Linked DNA regions of Homo sapiens: region 2 is linked to region 1. Evidence: promoter capture Hi-C in human tissues and cell types (Jung and others, 2019). All regions are on one chromosome and are shown on one strand. Each heading gives the region's core, a stretch centred on a gene start or on the middle of the fragment in contact. The rest is flanking DNA. Distances are from core to core; before and after follow the strand shown.

The links. The method cuts DNA at HindIII sites, captures the fragments that hold promoters and counts their contacts. A contact is called where the count stands out against the background at its distance.
Region 2: a contact is called between a fragment that was not itself captured here and the fragment with the promoter of MEI1 in region 1, in 5 of the 25 tissues and cell types used here (dorsolateral prefrontal cortex, lymphoblastoid cells, mesenchymal stem cells and 2 more).

Annotation. Positions count from the first base shown.
Region 1 is chr22:41,698,174-41,700,873 of GRCh38, forward strand. It overlaps MEI1 (meiotic double-stranded break formation protein 1), which reads left to right and starts at 1,330. Exons shown (of 31, transcript NM_152513.4): 1 at 1,330-1,539. The coding sequence starts at 1,366. RefSeq lists a silencer at 1,303-1,402. The HindIII fragment of the contact is 9,130 bases long and covers 218-2,700 here.
Region 2 is chr22:41,755,864-41,758,563 of GRCh38, forward strand. It overlaps MEI1 (meiotic double-stranded break formation protein 1), which reads left to right. Exons shown (of 31, transcript NM_152513.4): 18 at 2,502-2,670. Among named protein-coding and RNA genes, the nearest start is that of CCDC134, 43 kb to the right of the region's middle. The HindIII fragment of the contact is 4,539 bases long and covers 1-2,700 here.

The DNA.
Region 1 (2,700 bases), core at 80-2,579:
TGCCCCCTTTCGGGGTTTGGGATACTTTGTGGGTGGGGTAGAAGCCCCTTCCACTCTGTGGTTGTGGTTTAGGGAATGTGGGTCAACCCAGTGTCCTCTCCGAAACACCTGCCCCCCAGCTCCTCACAGTGGAGTCCACTGAGGTTCTATCCTGCTCTGTCTCCAAGCTAATCCTGATTGAGGCAGGACACTCCAAAAGCCTCAGCTGCTTATGGGGAGGGGTGGTCCTCTGCATGGGACGCTTTTTTTTTTTTTTTTGAGATGGAGTGTAGGTCTGTGGCCCAAGCTGGAGTTCAGTGGCTTGATCTCCGCTCACTGTAACCTCCGCCTCCTGGGTTCAAGCGATTCTGCTGCCTCAGCCTCCCGAGTAGCTGGGATTACAGTCATGAGCCACCACACCCAGCTAATTTTTGTATTTTTAGTAGAGGAGGGGTTTCGCCCTGTTGCTCAGGCTGGTCTTGAACTTCTTTCTCTCTGTCTTTGGTGTTTTGTTTTGTTTTTTTACTTTTATTTTTTGGTCTTAAGCTTCTGATTTATTTATTTATTTTTAAGATGGAGTCTTCCTCTGTCACCCAGGCTGGAGTGCAGTGGTGCGATCTTGGCTCACTGCAACCTCCACCTCCCAGGTTCAAGTGATTCTCCTGCCTCAGCCTCCCTCCCAAAGTGCTGTGATTACAGGCATGAGCCAACTCACCCAGCCTCTAATTGCTTTTAGATGCGAATCCTTGGGATCGCTTATTTTCCTTTTTTTTTTTTTTTTTGAGATAGAGTCTTGCTCTGTCGCCAGGCTGGAGTGCAGTGGCACAATCTCAGCTCACTGCAACCTCCGCCTCCCAGGTTCAAGTGATTCCCCTGCCTCAAGCCTCCCAAGTAGCTGGGATTACAGGCACTTGCCACCACACCCAGCTAATTTTTTGTATTTTAGTAGAGACGGGGTTTCACCATGTTGGGTAAGATGGTCTTGATCTCCAGATCTCGTGATCCGCCCACCTCGGCTTCCCAAAGTGCTGGGATTACAGGCGTGAGCCACCATGCCCGGCCTTCATTTTTAAAAAACAGTAGAAATAGCTTCCTTTCCTTCCTTTTTCAAGGCAAATGCCCCCTACTTTATAATTGCTTTTCAACTTTGGATGTGGTAAAGACATTCCTGCAGGGTTCTAAGCACAAACCGCTTTTGGCTTAGCTAGACACGATCCAGAGCACTTGCGTCCACCACTTGCCCTCAGTGGCTGCTGCTCGTCTGAGACTGCAGCGCCCTGGGTCCGCGCAGGCGCATTCCACACCGACGCAGGTCCGTCCTCCAAGTGCGCATGCGTGCAGTCTGCGCGGGAAAGAGTGCCGCCTCAGCTGAGGGCAAGCGAGGAGATGGCTGTGAGGCAGGCGGCGACGGCGGGCACTCCCGGGCCCAGGAGAGAGGAAGAGGCGGCGCTTCTATTCGAGAGGGCCCATTACCGGCACGACCCGCGCTGGCTGCTGCCCGTGACCCCCCGCCTGTGCCTGGCCTGCGCGCTGGAGCTGCTGCCGGACCCCGGCGTGTCGGTGCGGGCGGAACCTTTTCTTCAGAAGACCTGGGTTTGGCCATTTCCCTCAGCAAACGCGGCCAGGCCCTTGCCAGACCCGCTCCGGTGAACCCGACGCGAAACCGGGCCCCCGCGCTGTGTTCACTCTCCTCCCTGTCAGCCCGTCCCGGACCCGGCCGCAGCGGCCTCTCGGGCCCCTCAGCCCCAGGCCGGCCTGCGGGCCTCCGTGGAGCCCGGTCCACTGGCTCTGCGCCTGAAAGGACGGAAATCCGGATCCCCCGGGACCTCACCCAGTCTCAGGGACACACCTTCCCGCCTTCCGCCTTCTGGCTCCTTCCCTTTGCTGCCCCTGCCTCCATTTCCCGGGGATTCGGCCTTAGCTCAGGCTCCCGCCATTTCAGCCTCCCGCCATTTCAGCCTCCACTCACCTGCGGGCCAGGGGCGCATGCGGCGGCCGCTCCTCATTCCCTTCAGCTGTCGGGGTGTGAATCGGAGGAGGGGCAGTCTGGGCTCCGAGGGGACAGGAGTGACAGGTTACAGCCGGGCAGAAGTGGGGGTGAACGGGAAGACTGTTCCTTGGGCAGAGCTGGCCAAAGCGGGCTGCCTGGGTCCTCATTGCCTACCGCGTTTGCAATGAAGTGGTTTTGTTTGTTTCGAGACGGAGTCTCGCTCTGACACCCAGGCCGGAGTGCAATGGCGCCATCTCCGCTCACTGCAACCTCTGTTTCCTGGGTTCAAGCGATTCTCCTGCCTCAACCTACCCAGTAGCTGGGATTACAGGCTCCCGCCACCACGCTCGGCTAATTTCTCTATTTTTAGTAGAGACGGAGTTTCATCATGTTGGCCAGGCTGGTCTCGAACTCTTGACCTCAGGTGATCCACCCGCCTCGGCTTCCCATAGTGCTGGGATTATAGGCGTGAGCCACGGTGCCCGACCTGCAGTGAGTTTTCTTGTCCATGGAGGCATCCAAGAAGACTTTGGGAGGTCAAGTTTCTCTCCAATTCATGGGAGGGGAATTCGTGAGTGGGTGGATTGGCTAGATCAGCAGTTCTCAATTTTTTTTTTTTTTTTTTTTTTTTTTGTAGAAACGGTCCCGGGGGTCTCCCTGTGTTGCCCAGGCTGGTCTTGAACTCCTAGTCTCAAGCAATTCTCCTGCCTTGACCTCCCAAAGTCCAAAGT
Region 2 (2,700 bases), core at 130-2,629, 58 kb after region 1:
ATGCGCTATCCTCACCCTCTGCTTGCCCAGGACTTGGCCCTGGCAGGATGGATTCTTTCGGTTGACCTTCAACTGAGGTCCTGTCTTTCAATCTCTCATCCACTCACTGCTGGAAGGATTATCTGAAAACAAAGTCTTAACATCTTAACTCCCCTGGCTTTCAGCTGTGGTCTCCACACATCAGTCTGTGGAGTAGTGTCAAATAGTGATGAAGTTTTCTCTGGTCCATGGTGAAATGTGGAACATAAGGATAAAGTTGACTTTATTTAGGTTTTTTTGTTTGTTTTGTTTTTTGAGGCAGAGTCTCAGTCTGTTGCCCAGGCTGGAGTTGAGTGATGTCAGCTCACTGCAACCTCCACCTCCCAGATTCAAGTGATTCTTGTGTCTCAGCCTCACGAATAGCTGGGACTACAAGCATATGTCACCATGCCCAGGTGATTTTTTTGTATTTTTAGTAGAGATGGGGTTTTGCCATGTTGGCCAGGCTGGTCTTGAACTCCTGGCCTCAAACAATCTACCTGCCTTGGACTCCAAAGTGCTAGGATTACAGGTGTGAGCCACCGCACCTGGCCTTTATTCAAATTTTAAACTCTGAAGTCAGTCTTTTTCTTTCCTTTTTTTTTGTTTTGGGACAGCGTCTTGTTCTGTTGCCCAGGCTGGAGTGCAGTGGCGTGATCTCGGCTCATTGCAACCTCCACCTCCCGGGTTCAAGCAATTCTCCTGCGTCAGCTTCCTGAGTAGCTAGGACTACAGGCACTTGCCACCACGCTTGTCTAATTTTTGTATTTTTAATAGAGACAGGGTTTTGCCATGTTGGCCAGGCTGGTCTCGAACTCCTGACCTCAGGTGATCCACCTGCCTTGGTTTCCCAAAGTGCTGGCATTACCGGCTTGAGCCACCACGCCTATCCTTCTTTCCTGTTCTTTTGGTATTAAAATATTCTTTCTTTTATGAAACCGTTTTCGTAAGAAATCTAGAAGTCTCTGCCCTCAGGATGAAGTCCCAATTCCTTAAGTGGCATTTGCTTAAAGGTCTTTCACAGTCCAACTGCAGATTACATCACATAGTTCCCCAGCTTCTGACACCCCACATCTATTCACTGACTATCCAGTGACACTGAATGGAAACATGGCATGTCTTCTCATGCCTTCAGGCCTCTGAACACCTTGCTTCCTTTTCTCTTTTCTCCTGTCGCTGCCTCTTTTCTCCTCACCCTCCACAGTTTGTTTCTTTCTTTCTTTCTTTTTTTGAGACGGAGTCTCGCTCTGTCGCCCATGCTGGAGTGCAGTGACATGATCTCGGCTCACTGCAGGCTCCGCCTTCTGGGTTCACGCCATTCTCCTGCCTCAGCCTCCCAAGTAGCTGGGACTACAGGGGCCCGCCACCTCGCCTGGCTATTTTTTTGTATTTTTAGTAGAGACGGGTTTTCACCGTGTTAGCCAGGATGGTCTTGATCTCGTGACCTCGTGATCCGCCAGCCTCGGCCTCCCAAAGCTTGCTTTCTTTTTTCTGAGATGGAGTTTCGCGCTTGTCATTCAGGCTGGAGTGCAATGGTGCCATCTCAGCTCACTGCAACCTCTGCCTCCCAGGTTCAAGCGATTCTCCCACCTCAGCCTCCCAAGTAGCTGGGATTACAGGCGCCCGCCATCATAGCCGGCTAATTTTTGTATTTTTGTAGGGACGGGGTTTCACTATGTTGGCCAAGCTGGTCTTGAACTCCTGACCTCAGGTGATATACCCTCCTCAGCCTCCCAAAGTGCTGGGATTACAGCCTGGCCCACAGTTTCTTCCTCTTTGACCTTTCCTTCCCCATGCCAGGCAGCCTGAGTCACTCCCTCCTCAATATAGCGCTGATCACATGTCCTGCAATTGCCTGTCTCATTATGTGTCTCTTCCCATCAGCTGCCAGTTCCTGGAGGTAGGGCCTGGGTCTCACAGCCTGTCCTGAGTAGTAGCCACTCAATGAACATATGTCAAATGAATGAAAGAATGAATGTTTTTGGGAGGCCAAGGTGGGTGAATCACCTGAGGTCAGGAGTTTGAGACCAGCCTGGCCAACATGGCAAAACCCTGCCTCTACTAAAAATACAAAAAATTAGCTGGGCGTGGTGGTGGGTGCCTGTAATCACAGCTACTTGGGAGGCTGAGGCAGGAGAATTGCTTGAACCCAGAACGGGGAGGTTGCAGTGAGCCGAGATCATGCCATTGCACTCCAGCATGGGCAACAGAGCGAGACTCTGTCAAAAGAAAAACAAAACAAAAAAGGAATGAACGTTAATTTTTGAGACATATCCATGTCCTTCTGCTTGTGAAGTTTAGTCTTTCCCGGTAGGTTGAACCTTGCTCAAAGGAAGAGGAGCCTCTGATTTCCTTATTTCCCACTATACTGCATTTACCCTTGCTGCCCTGTGCAGTACTCTGCATGTAGTAGGTACTAATGTGCTGATTACCTGTTCTTCTATGTTCTCTGTGTGGCTTTCCTCTACTTATTCCCTCCCTAGAACTCTCTGCAGTGTCTGAGCTCCTGCAGCATGGGCTGCCCCAGATAAGCAGCAGGAGCCCTGAAAGCCTTGCCTTCCTGTCTGATCGCCAGTACATGGAGGGAGCTGCTCGCCAGAGACAGTACTGCATCCTGCTCCTCTTCTACTTGGCCTACATCCATGAAGACAGGTCAGTGCACAGAGGTGGGTGGCTGGTGGT